Linked DNA regions of Homo sapiens: region 1 is linked to region 2. Evidence: promoter capture Hi-C in human tissues and cell types (Jung and others, 2019). All regions are on one chromosome and are shown on one strand. Each heading gives the region's core, a stretch centred on a gene start or on the middle of the fragment in contact. The rest is flanking DNA. Distances are from core to core; before and after follow the strand shown.

Evidence for each region. The method cuts DNA at HindIII sites, captures the fragments that hold promoters and counts their contacts. A contact is called where the count stands out against the background at its distance.
Region 1: a contact is called between a fragment that was not itself captured here and the fragment with the promoter of ADCYAP1 in region 2, in 2 of the 25 tissues and cell types used here (H1 embryonic stem cells and mesendoderm cells).

Annotation. Positions count from the first base shown.
Region 1 is chr18:1,029,752-1,036,985 of GRCh38, reverse strand. All of the region lies in intron 1 of LOC107985165 (a long non-coding RNA gene), which reads right to left. Among named protein-coding and RNA genes, the nearest start is that of LINC01904, 110 kb to the right of the region's middle. The HindIII fragment of the contact is 3,093 bases long and covers 2,157-5,249 here.
Region 2 is chr18:901,076-907,443 of GRCh38, reverse strand. ADCYAP1 (adenylate cyclase activating polypeptide 1) reads right to left here and starts at 2,573. Exons shown (of 5, transcript NM_001099733.2): 1 at 2,384-2,573; 2 at 1,948-2,058. The coding sequence starts at 2,057. It overlaps LOC124904340 (a long non-coding RNA gene), which reads left to right and starts at 792. Exons shown (of 2, transcript XR_007066435.1): 1 at 792-2,362; 2 at 3,096-4,680. The HindIII fragment of the contact is 12,558 bases long and covers 1-5,001 here.

The DNA.
Region 1 (7,234 bases), core at 2,454-4,953, 130 kb before region 2:
CAAAGAACTAAAAATAGAATTACTATTTGACCCAGTAAGCCCATTACTGGGTATATACCCACAGGAAAATAAATTGTTCTACCAAAAAAGCACTGGCTCTCATATGTTTATTGCAGCACTCTTCACAATAGCAAAGACATGGGACCAACTTATGTGCCCATCAACGGTGGACTGGTTAAAGAAAATATGGTACATATACACCATGGAATAATATGCAGCCACAAAAAAAGAACAAAATCATGTCTTTTGCAGCAGCATAGATGTAGCTGGAGGCCATTATCCTAAGCGAATTAATGCAGAAACAGAAAATCAAATACTGCCTGTTCTTACTTATAAATTGGAGCTGAACATTTGGGTACACACAGACACAAAAATGGGAACAGTAGACACTGGAAACTCTGAAAGACAGGGATGGCAGGGGTAAGGGTTAATAAAGTCTCCACTGGGGACTATGTTAACTATTTGGGTGATGGGATTAATAGAGGCCCAAGCCTCAGCAGATATACCTCAGCATATACATCATGCAATATACCCATGTAAAAAACCTACCCATGTACCCCCTGAATCTAAAACTTAAAATTTAAATTGAAATTTAAAAAAAACATTTTTTAAAAAAGAAAGTAACAGGCAAGCCTTTAGTCTTGCCTTTAGCAATAGTCTAAGCAAGAGGCTAAATCAGAGAAAGTGTCAACTCCCGTTTAATTTTCCCCCTCAGAATAGCACCAGTTCAGGGTCAGGAGGATCGGCATAAATGTGACGGTCACCTCACTGCCAAGGGAGCCCCAAACAAAAGGCCCTGAAGTCTTATGAACCTGGGCAATAAGGGGAAGTAGGCAGGAGTGTAGAAAAGCATTAAGTACTGAGTCAGAGTAGAGGAAAATGTCTTCAGGGTCTCCTCCTCCCTCTCCACAATAAGGAAGTCTCTGCTGATGGCCCTGGATAAAGAGGCTTCCAAAAGGAGGCATCTGGGCTAGGAATGCAGCCATGTATAACAGCATGGCTGGCCAGGGCTGAGTCCTTGACAGTCACTGCTTTCTCAGACTGCAGTGCACTGGGTGTCGCCAAGTCTCAGGGGGCATGGCAGCTCTGCCCTATGAGGCCTGCCAGATAAGGTCTTTGTAATTGTCTAAGGTTGGGCCTGAAAGTTATGCAGAGGTTTTTGACCAGGATCTGTACTCCCCTCAGTGGCAACTTTTAAAAATATTCCATTTTGTTCATCTCCCACATTTACATTTGGGTTGTGAAAGAAATTCACTGTCACCAAGTTTGGAAAAAGAAGTGTGTGAGTGTGTGTGTGTGTGTGTAGTGTAATGTATTTTTAAAAATACGTTGTAAATGTTTTCATGAGAATGTAAAACTTGCATCAAAAATATGTAATCTTACAGTAAATCCAACCTAAGAAAAGTTCAGGTAAAGAAATAATGAAGATAAAAGCAGAGATTAATAAAATTAATTTGAATAAAATTAAAAACAAAAATGAAAGGCAGACACTTGTCAAAGCCAAAAGTTAGTTCTTTGAAAACATTAATAATATGGAAAAGGTCACTTCCAAGATGGCCAAATAGGAACGGCTCTGGTCTACAGCTCCCAGCAAGATAGATGCAGAAGACAGGTGATTTCTGCATTTCCAACTGAGGTACCTGGTTCATCTCATTCGGACTGTTGGACAGTGGGTAAAGCCCATGGAGGGCGAGCCGAAGCAGGACAGGGCGTTCCCTCACCCAGGAAGCGTAAGGGGTCGGGGGATTTCCCTTTCCTAGCTAAGGGAAGCAATGAGTGACTGTACCTGGAGGAATGGTACACTCCTGAATAAATACTGCACTTTTCCCACAGTCTTCACAACTGGTAGACCAGGAGATTCCCTCCTATGCCTGGCTCAGCAGGTCCCACTCCCATGGAGCCTTGCTTGCTGCTAGCACAGCAGTCTGAGATTGACCTGGGAAGCTGGAGCTTGGGAGGTTGAGGCATCCACCATTGCTGAAGCTTGAGTAGGCAGTTCTATGCTGACATTGTAAACAAAGCAGCAGGGAAGCTCAAACTAGGTGGAGCCCACAGCAGCTTCGTAAGGCCTACTGCCTCTCTAGATTCCACCTCTGGGGGCAAGGCATATCTGAACAAAAGGCAGCAGAGAGCTTCTGCAGACTTAAACGTCCCTGCCTGACAGCTCTGAAGAGAGCAGTGGATCTCCCAGCATGGCGTTTCAGCTCCAATAACAGACAGACTGCCTCCTCAAGTGGGTCCCTAACCCCTGCATAGTCTGACTGGGAGAAACCTCCCAGTAGGGGCCTACAGACACCTCAAACAGGGAGATGCCCCTCTGGGACGAAGCTTCCAGAGGAAGGATCAGGCAGCAATATTTGCTGTTCTGCAGCCTCCACTGGTGATGCCTAGGCAAACAGGGTCTGGAGTGGACCTCCAGCAAACTCCAACAGACCTGCAACTGAGGGGCCTGGCTGTTAGAAGGAAAACTAACAAACAGAAAGGAACAGCACCAACATAAACAAAAGGGACATCCACAGCAAAACCCCATCCATAGGTCACCAGCATCAAAGACCAAAGGTAGATAAAACCACAAAGATGGGGAGAAACCAGAACAGAAAGGCTGAAAATTCCAAAAACCAGAATGCCCCTTCTCCTCCAAAGGAACACAACTCCTCGCCAGCAAGGGAAAAAAAACTGAATGGAGAATGAGTTTGACGAGTTGACAGAAGTAGGCTTCAGAAGATTGGCAATAACAAACTTCTCCAAGCTAAAGAAGCATGTTCTAACCCATTGCAAGGAAGCTAAAAACCTTGAAAAAAGGTTAGGCGAATGGCTAACTAGAATAAATGCATAGAGAAGACCTTAAATGACCTGATGGAGCTGAAAACCACAGTATGAGAACCTCATGAAGCATAAACAAGCTTCAATAGCTAATTCAATCAAGCAGAAGAAAGGATATTAGTGATTGAAGATCAAATTAATGAAATAAAGTGTGAAGACAATATTAGAGAAAAAAGACTATGTGAAAAGACCAAATCTACATTTGATTGGTGTATCTGAAAGTGATGGGGAGAATGGAACCAAGTTAGAAAACACTCTTCAGAACATTATCCAGGAGAACTTCCCCAACCTAGCAAGGCAGGCCAACATTCAAATCCAGGAAATACAGAGAATGCCACAAAGATACTCCTCGAGAATAGCAACTCCAAGACACACAACTGTCAGATTCACCAAAGTTGAAATGAAGGAAAAAATGTTAAGGGCAGCCAAAGAGAAAGGTTGGGTTACCCACAAAGGTAAGCCCATCAGACTAACAGTGGATCTCTCAGCAGAAACCCTCCAAGCCAGAAGAGAGTCGGGGACTAATATTCAACATTCCTAAAGAAAAGAATTTTCAACCCAGAATTTTCATATCCAGCCAAACTAAGTTTCATAAGTGAAGGAGAAATAAAATCCTTTACAGGCAAGCAAATGCTGAGAGATTTTGTCACCACCAGGCCTGCCTTACAAGAGCTCCTGAAGGAAGCACTAAACATGGAAAGGAACAGCCGGTACCAGCTACTGCAAAAACATGCCAAATTGTAAAGACCATCAACCCTATAAAGAAACTGTATCAATTAACGGGCAAAATAACCAGCTAGCATCACAATGACAGGATCAAATTCACACATAACAATCTTAACCTTAAATGTAATGGGCTAAATTCCCCAATTAAAAGACACAGACTGGCAAATTGGATAAAGAGTCAAGACCCATCGGTGTGCTGTATTCAGGAGACCCATCTCACATACAAAGACACACATTGGCTTAAAATAAAAGGATGGAGGAACATCTACCATGCAAATGGAAAGCAGAAAAAAAAAGCAGGTGTTGGTTGCAATCCTGGTCTCTGATAAAGCAGACTTTAAACCAACAAAGATCAAAAGAGACAAAAAAGGCCATTACACAATGATAATGGGATCAATTCAACAAGAAGAGCTAACTATCCTAAATATATATGCACCCAATACAGGAGTACCCAGATTCATAAAGCAAGTTCTTAAAGACCTACAAAGAGACTTAGACTCCCACACAATAATAATGGGAGACTTTAACACCCCACTATCAATATTAGACAGATCAATGAGACAGAAAATTAACAGGGATATCCAGGACTTGAACTCAGCTCTGAACCAAGCAGACCTGATAGATATCTACAGAACTCTACACCCCAAATCAACAGAATATACATTCTTCTCAGCACCACATCACACTTATTCTAAAATTGACCACATAATTAAAAGTAAAACACTCCTCAGCAAATGTTAAAGAACAGAAATCACAACAAACTGTCTCTCAGAATACAGTGCAATCAAATTAGAACTCAGGACTAAGAAACTCACTCAAAACCACACAACTACATGGAAAGTGAACAACCTGCTCCTGAATGACTACTGGGTAAGTAATGAAATGAAGGCAGAAATAAAGATGTTCTTTGAAACCAGTGAGAACAAAGACACAACATACCAGAATCTCTGGGACACATTTAAACCAATGTGTAGAGGGAAATTTATAGCACTAAATGCCCACAAGAGAAGGCAGGCAAGATCTAAAATTGACACCCTAACATCACAATTAAAACAACTAGAGAAGCAAGAGCAAACAAATTCAAAAGCTAGCAGAAGGCAAGAAATAACTAAATACAGAGCAGAACTGAAGGAGATAGAGACACAAAAAACCCTTCAAAAAACCAGTGAATCCAAGAGCTGGTTTTTTGAAAAGATTAACAAAATAGATAGACTGCTATCCAGACTAATAAAGAAGAAAAGAGAGAAGAATCAAATAGACGCAGTAAGAAATGATAAAGGGGATATCACCACCGATCCCACAGAAATACAAACTACCATAAGAGAATACTATAAACACCTCTATGCAAATAAACTAGAAAATCTAGAAGAAATGGATAAATTCCTCGGCACGTACACCCTCCAAAGACTAAACTAGGAAGAAGTTGAATCTCTGAATAGACCAATAACATGTTCTGAAATTGAGGCAATAATTAATAGCCTACCAACAAAAAAAGTCCGGGACCAGATGGATTCACACCCAAATTCTACCAGAGCTACAAAGAGGAGCTGGTACCATTCCTTCTGAAACTATTCCAATCAATAGAAAAAGACGGAATCCTCCTTAACTCATTTTATGAGGCCAGCATCATCCTGATACCAAAGCTTGGCAGAGACACAACAAAAAAAGAGAATTTTAGGCCAGTATCCCTGATAAACATCGATGCAAAATACTCAATAAAATACTGGCGAACAGAATCCAGCAGCACATCAAAAAGCTTATCCACCATGATGAAGTCAGCTTCACCCCTGAGATGCAAGGCTGGTTCAACCTACACAAATCAATAAACGTAATCCATCACATAAACAGAACCAACAACAAAAACCACATGATTATCTCAATAGATACAGAAAAGGCCTTCAAAAAAATTCAACAATGTTTCATGCTAAAAACTCTAATAAACTAGGTATTGATGGACCATATCTCAAAATAATAAGAGCTACCTATGATGAACCCACAGCCAATATCATACTGAATGGGAAAAAACTGGAAGCATTCCCTTTGAAAAGGGGCATAAGACAAGGATGCCCTCTCACCACTCCCATTCAACATGGTATTGGAAGTGCTGGCCAGGGCAATCAGGCAACAGAAAGAAATAAAGATATTCAAATAGGAAGAGAGGAAGTCAAATTGTCTCTGTTTGCAGATGATATGATTTTATATTTGGTAAACTCCATCGTCTCAGCCCAAAATCTCCTTAAGCTGATAAGCAACTTCAGCAAAGTCTCAGGATATAAAATCAATATGCAAAAATCACAAACATTCCTATACACCAAGAACAGGAAAACAGAGCCAAATCATGAGTGAACTCCCATTCACAATTACTACTACAAAGAGAATGAAATACCTAGGAATCCAATTTACAAGGGATGTGAAGGACCTCTTCAAGGAGAACTACAAACCACTGCTCAACGAAATAAGAGGACACAAACAAATGGAAGAACATTCCATGTTCATGGATAGGAAGAATCAATATCGTGAAAATGGCCATACTACCCAAGGTAATTTATAGATTCAATGCTATCCCCATCAAGCTACCAATTACTTTCTTCACAGAATTGGAAAAAACTACATTAAATTTCACATGGAACCAAAAGAGAACCCACATAGCCAAGACATCCTAAGCAAACCTGACTTCAAACTATACTACAAGGCTACAGTAACCAAAACAGCATGGTACCGGTACCAAAACAGAGATATAGGCCAATGGAACAGAACAGAGGCCTCAGAAAAAACACCACCCATCTACAACCATCTGATCTTTGACAAACCTGACAAAAACAAGCAATGGGGAAAGGATTCCCTATTTAATAAGTGGTGCTGGGAAAACAGGATAGCCATATGTAGAAAGCTGAAACTGGATCCCTTCCTTACACCTTGTACAAAAATTAACTCAAGATGAATTAAAGACTTAAATGTAAAACATAAAACCATAAAAACCCTAGAAGAAAACCTAGGCAATACCATTTAGGACATAGGCATGGGCAAGGACTTCATGACTAAAACACCAAAAGCAATGGCAACAAAAGCCAAAATTGACAAATGGGATCTAATTAAACCAAAGATCTTCTGCACAGCAAAAGAAACTACCATCAGAGTGAACAGGCCACCTACAGAATGGGAGAACATTTTTGCAATCTATCCATCTGACAAAGGGCTAATATCTAGAATCTACAAAGAACTTAAACAAATTTACAAGAAAAAAAAACCCCATCCAAAAGTGGGTGAAGGATATGAAGAGACACTTCTCAAAAGAAGACATGTATGCAGCCAACAGACATATGAAAAAATGCTCATCATTACTGGTCATCAGAGAAATGCAAATCAAAACTGCAATGAGATACCCTCTCACGCCAGTTAGAATGTCAATCATTAAAAAGTCAGGAAACAACAGATGCTGGAGAGGATGTGGAGAAATAGGAACGCTTTTACACTGTTGGTGGGAGTGTAAACTAGCTCAACCATTGTGGAAGAGAGTATGGTGATTCCTCAAGGATCTAGAATTAGAAATACCATTTGACCCAGGGATCCCATTACTGGGTATATACCCAAAGGATTATAAATCATGCTATTATAAAGACACATGCACATTTATGTTTACTGCAGCACTATTCACAATAGCAAAGACTTGGAACCAACCCAAATG
Region 2 (6,368 bases), core at 1,324-3,823:
CCTTCGCGGGTAAAGGGTCGTCCTGCGGGCCACGGCCTCAACAAGCGCTGGGAAACCGAGGCGTCTCCGCCGATCGCGCACACCTGTCTACGGAAAAGGACCGCCCCCCTCCCCGCCTGGCTCCCGAGCCTCCCCAAAGCAGCAACGGGCGGGGACGAGAAAGGCCCTGGGAGACCGGGCGCTGACCCACGCGAAGACCCGAATGGGGAGGCCCAGAAAGCAAAGGAGAGGATGCGTGGGGCGTGCGGGGGCCAACTCCTCAGCCACCCCCACCCCAGCCTCCGAGCCCAGGGGAGCCCTTCTCCGAGCAGATGTAGGTCACGGAGAACCTCGGTTTCTATTTTGGGCAGGCGAGGATCTGGCAGGAACATGAATAATAAATGCCCCTAAACTTAGCCAGTTCGGCGGCGGCTCAGACTGTGGCGCGTCCGCACCCTCCGGTGCTTCTCGCACGGAGAAAGTGCCAGGCACACGGGAACTTGAAAATAGCTGAGGGTGAAACCAGGGTGTTTTAAGGCCACTAAACGAATAGTTCGCGCTGATCTGTTATCGATGGCGGTGCCCCATCTCAACCCCAGAGCACGAGGAGGGGGACCGAGATCCAGCGAGTGCCTGGCGACTTCGCAGTCGCCCTCTACAGCCTCCGTTCTTGACACAGGACGGGTAGAGATGGGTTAAAACAAATCCCTCTCGCTTTGGACCCCTGGAGAGACTTGGCGTGCAGCCAGCGCTAGTAGCACTCTCTGGGCGGGGTTGGAGTCGTACTTCGCTGCTTCACTCGCCTTTTCTCCATCCTTGGAGAGGCCCGGGCAAGGCAAGCGCATCATTCCGCACGCCTCGCACCCAGCCTTTGCTCGGCGATGCGCCTCAGCCCTGGCCCGGGTACCCCGAACCCTGGGGTCTTTCTGGATATTGCCCTGCCTCGAGCCCAGATGCTGGAATCCTAATACAGAACCCAGAACCCATCTCTCCGTCCAAATCAATGATCAGCGGCCCCCCAGAGCTAATGTTCCTGGGCGGGGCTCGGAGAAGGCAGCTTCGCAGGCAGAACGCGCGCTCCTCGCTGCCCCAGGCGCCGCTGGTACGAACCCTCCCCTACCCAGGGCTCATCCACAGCCTGGCACATCGGTCCGCGACTCTGGGGCTGCCTCCGGGAACCTGGGCCGCGCCTGCCGGTTAGAAACCCGGGGTTAAGAAAAAAGCCAAGGTTCCTCCATCCCGGGCCAGGCAGGGCTGCTCTCCCGGTCCTGCCTGCCTGCTGGCTTTCCCTTCCTCCTCCTTTGCGCCTGTTTTTCCCCCTCCTTCGCAGTCTCGTCCTTGTTCTTCCCTCTCTTAAGTCGCTTTTCCTCAATCACACCGGGCCAACACCCTCCCCACCGCACGCCCCCCAAGACAGCCTGGGATTCAAAATGCAGTTGGAACACGGATCACTTGAAAGAAAGCTCTTCAGGGGAAAGAATTGGAATGAAATGAAAAGAAAGGGTGGAGGAGAGAGAGAGACCCCACCCGGATAGTCCAGAACAAGCAGTAACAAAGCAAAGTCCGAGGGAGCTTCACGCTCAACCCCCGGCCAGGCTCCAGAGCTGAAGTTCTCCTAACTCGTCCCAAGAATAGGTAAAAGAAACCAAGCTAGGGGCCGTGCCCTGCCCCCATCCTGTGGGCCGGGTTGGGGGAGGGGGGGTTCTCCAGCGGCCAGAAGCTCACTGGCTCTACCCGGGACCCTGAGCTGCCTAGGGCTGGGGGAGGCGTCCGAGCAGTCGCGGAGCCTGCCAGACCCTCGGCTAGAATGGGGACCCGCTGTCCAGCCGAGGCTGGCGGAGGCGCACCGGGGGCGCAGAGGGCGATGCTAGTAGTCTGGACCCAAAGGACTGCAGGAAGGAGACCGTGAGGAAGCGTCTGTGCCTGGGAAGCCCCAGCTCCTGCTTGGGCCAGGCAGCCAGCACCTACCTGATCCCGGGGAACCGGAGTCCGGCGGCGGCAGGTGAGCTGTAGACGCTGCTGTGCATGATTATCCCATAGACCAGCAGGGCCAGCCTCGCTCCGCTACACATGGTCATTCTGCGCAGGATGGGAAAGAGGACACACAGCTGTGAGAACGCCCCTGGCCTCCCACCCTCCAACCCCAAAAAGCTCTGGAAGCCGGGGGAGGGACGGAGCGAAGCCCCGGCTCCCTGAGTTGAACAGCACTTGGCGACAGCCGGTGCGCGCCCTGCCACTTCTTGCTTGCTATAGTTAGAAAAAAATATATATATATGCATCTACCCGGCGCCCAATAACTAGCCAGACCCGGCTGAAGGAAAGCTAACTCCCCTGACGCGATGCCAAGCGAAAGAATCAGCAGTCGAGTGAGCCGGTCGCTTTGGTAAGATTTTCCCTCCCTTACCCTTCAACTCCTCCCGCTGCCAGGAGAGCTGCCAGGTAGGACGGCGGGCAAAGCGCTTCTTCAAGTTCCTGCGCTGGAGTCACCACCCGAGAGGCATCGCCGTCTGGCGTTGGTGTCTGAGCAGAAGCCGCAGGAACCAGCGGGAGCAGCAGGAGGAGCTGCGGGACTCGTTTGCCGAGGCTCGTGTTCTGCTCAAAAGTTTGTAGACGCGCAGAACCAGGAGGGAGCGTGACACGGAGAGAAGGGGGCGCAGAGAGAGAGGCAGAAGAAAGAAAGAGGGGGCGATGAGGTGAAGCGCGGAGGAGCAAGGTGGCCGTAAGTCCACCCGGAGGAAGAAGCAGGCGATTAAGGGAAAGAGGGAAAGTCAGAAAAGAAGGGGAGGAAGGCAAGGGAGAGGGCGGGCGGCTAGCCCGCCTTTGTAGGAGCCGCGGGCCAGGCAGCCGCGAGGGTCGGCGGCGCCTTCTCTGCTCCGAGGTCTCTCCGGCTGCCTCTGAAGCTGCGGCTTCTGCTGCTGCTACCGCTGGTTACAGAGGTGACCGGCCTTCTGCTCCTATTTATCTGTGCAGTTCGCAAAAATCTATCCGAACATGGTTTTTGGAGAGCCCTCTTTGTCAACATCTGCCTGCCTGTTGCCTTTAAGTACAGAATATTTTGTTGCACTGTTGCGCTCCGATTTTTATTCATGAAATGACTTCCTTTTTTTTTTTCTCAGTCACGTAATGATCGGGTATCAGAAAAAGACGTCAGCATCCTAGTCCCTCAAGGAACATATTAACTATTCTGTGCTGTCCTCTTGGATGATAAGATCCGGAGTCATCGACTTCTCATAAACACCTTTCACTCATACAATCCAATTTTTAAGAAGTCCAATTGTTTTGATGGTTTTCAATTTCACCCGTTTCTCAAGGACAGGTAAAGAATTTTTAGAATTTTGAGGATGACAAAAGTTATGTTTTTAACTATATAATTACGATTTCTCTTTACTTTTTCATCAAGCCTCACCAATCAGAGCTCTGGTCTCTGGAATTAAGCATCATCAAGCTCTCCTATTAATAAATTTAATTTAGATCTCCTAATTTCTTGCGTATGTTCTTTCAGATAGACCATTAAATGTGGAAGTCGTTTTGTTTTTAAAGGGAAGTCTTGGAGGATTTTCAGTAAATCTCTCCTGAGTCTGGCTGCCGTTGACAGTAGGGCTATGAGTAGATTGATGAGAGCTCATGCTGCCTCCGGAGCGCGGCCTGCGGAGCTGTCCAGACTCCGGGTGCTGAAGTGTAGGGTAACAGATGCTACAAACGTTGAAAATTGCCACCGGTTTAATTTTTCACCAGAGCCTCTAAATTTGAAGATTTGGCAGTAGTGCTATTAACGTGGCGATTCATCGCCTAAATCACCCCCACCGTTCAGATACATCCTTTCCCTCTTGTAGCGTCCATAAATGCCCTAATGCTGAGAATGCTCCCCATCCCTGCCTGGATTTGAGGAAAAAGCATTCTGTCCCCCGTTAGTCCTGGCTTTTGGATTTCTAGACCGGCTGTTTGGCTACTTTCACACCTTCTGTGGCTCTTACAGATTTTAAAAATTGATGTTGTGAAATTGTGTTTTCCACAAGAAGTGAAATTTTAAGAATTTGGGGGCGAGAAATATGTTTTTCCACTTTGTTTACAACTTCAGCTCTGTTTGGGAGACACAGACAGACTGGGAAAGCATGAGGGTTCCCAGTACAAGTTCACCTGATGAAGGTTTCTAACAGGAATCCCTCTGCTGGAAACAGTTAATTTTTTTAACTGAAAATGATGTGGGAAGAGGAAAGCAATAAGGGAAGACCATATCCACCCAGAGGCTTCCAATTTCCTGGGTAATTGAAGAAGGTTCATATATTTCTACTCCAGTAAGAGAACTCAGGTCTATTTCTTTAAAAAAAAAAAAAAGAAGAAGAAGAAAGAAAGAAAGAAAATAGAGCCATCAATAACCATTAGAGTGCATTTTAATTATTTGGATCTTACACAAAAATTAGGGGAAATTCCAGTTTAGTGGGAGGGTTTCCTGTTACTACGATTTGGATCTCACATTTAAATAAGCTATATTAGTTCTGCATGCTTTTTCCAAGATATTATATTTCTCCTTCTAAATGCTGTTCCTGCTCTTATTTGAGATTTAATACTTCCTCCTTCTTAAAAAAAAAAACTAAGTTTTGTTTATTCCTGGCCATGAATGACCGAAAACTGTCTGCTTCCTCTTAGTTTATTCCTGGCCGTGCTTCAGATTGTCTGCCTTCAATAAAGCTTCAAACCACATCTACATGGGAATATGTCTCTTTTTCTCTGATACATATGCTCACTGATTTATGTTGGACTGTTTACATGCGTGTTTTCCATGTTCAGCTCTGCCTCTGCAGCAAGCTCGCACACAAAGAGCCTGCGGTGAACACTACCAGATAATCAAGCAGAGATGTCTTTCTTACTAAAGCGCCCAAAGCTATTCCCCACTGTGGCTTTCCTGTCTTCCGCCTTGCTTCACGTCAAAGGTGAACCCCATTAAAATCCTTACTCTTTCCTCCCACACGAATTCTGAGTTGAGTTCAATCTGGAGAAATATTTGAAAATTTCCAAGACTCCTTGTACAATTCACTACTCAACTTTAGTAAAGGGAGCCACCATGTGGGGAGTTTGCTGACTTCACGGCCCATTAAAGGGGGAAAACCACAAACACGATTAACTATCTGGGGAGGACGACTAACTGCTGGCTCCAAGGGCCAACAGAGGCTGAACTGTGCCTCTGACTTACCAAGGCTGCGACCCCGTGCTCTTCTCAGCTTAGATACTCTCAGCTCAGAACTCGGGGCTCAGCACCCAAAAATTACAGGCCTTCAGACCTGAACCCATTCACGAGAGTGAAAGACTAAACAGAGAACTTGAGATTCTTGGTCACTGAACTCCAGAAAATCAAGCTTCCTAGACCCACCAATTGCTCAACACAATCTAAAGACCCACACAGCCCTGCCCACAGCAGCCTGGGGGAATCAAACTCCTACAGGATCACCCACAGATCTTTTGTTGCTCATGGCCATTGTCTAGCTGGGCATGTTTGACATCTCTCTGCAGGAGAGCTTTCCTATTCATGAAAATCTGGCCTTGGCCCTGGGCCAAGGGAAAAGGCCAATAGATAGGAGGAACTAGAAGCTGCTAGATGAGAGTATAGGCCCCTTCTGCTTTCTATTGGGTAGAGGGAATATGGGATGACTGAAGTCTCAAAGACCAAAACTACCCCCAAATGCCCCTTTGATTCTAATCTTGGAAGGCTCCAGTCAAGCATTAACAGAGCATCCTGGAGGCCTTTGTGTCTGGGACTTTGAGGGAGCTGCAAGGAAGAGGGAACTTGTCAGCCCAAAGCCCCAGGCTAGAGAGACCAGGAGCCCCGGCATGCACTGAGGAGGCATGCGGCAGTGGCCAGGTGGGATACCGTGGCCCAGTCCAACAGACATACTAATTGCAAGTGCAGACCCCAGCCTGGCTTCAAGTGCAGATAGGAGCTGGAGGGTGAATCCTAGGAAGCCTCAACTAAAGCACTTTTATGAGAAGAGAGAGAGATAAAGGGAGGAGGAGCTAGAGGAGAATTGGGGAAGAGCAAGACCAGGGTAGGAGAGCCTTCCACTTTAATTGTTCTTACCCAGTTTCCCTCACAAAGGGTATTTAGGTGACTGGGGTTAAGAGCTCAAGAGAAACTTTCCAACCTCCTATATATAATTGAAAATGATGAAAGAGGGGGTTGGGGGAGAGGAGGAAGAAGAGACCAAAGAGTTAGAACGTTCTATTTACAGATAACACAAAGGAATTTCAAGTCTTCTTTCCAACACCCCTACTCCCTTCCCTCAGTGCTCACCAGAATACTTCCCAGGCCAGAAAAGTAGATTTCCCAGGCTGGCAGTTTCTTTCCAGGCTGTGAGATTGTTACATTAACTGGAATCATGTTTGGCTAGAAAAGT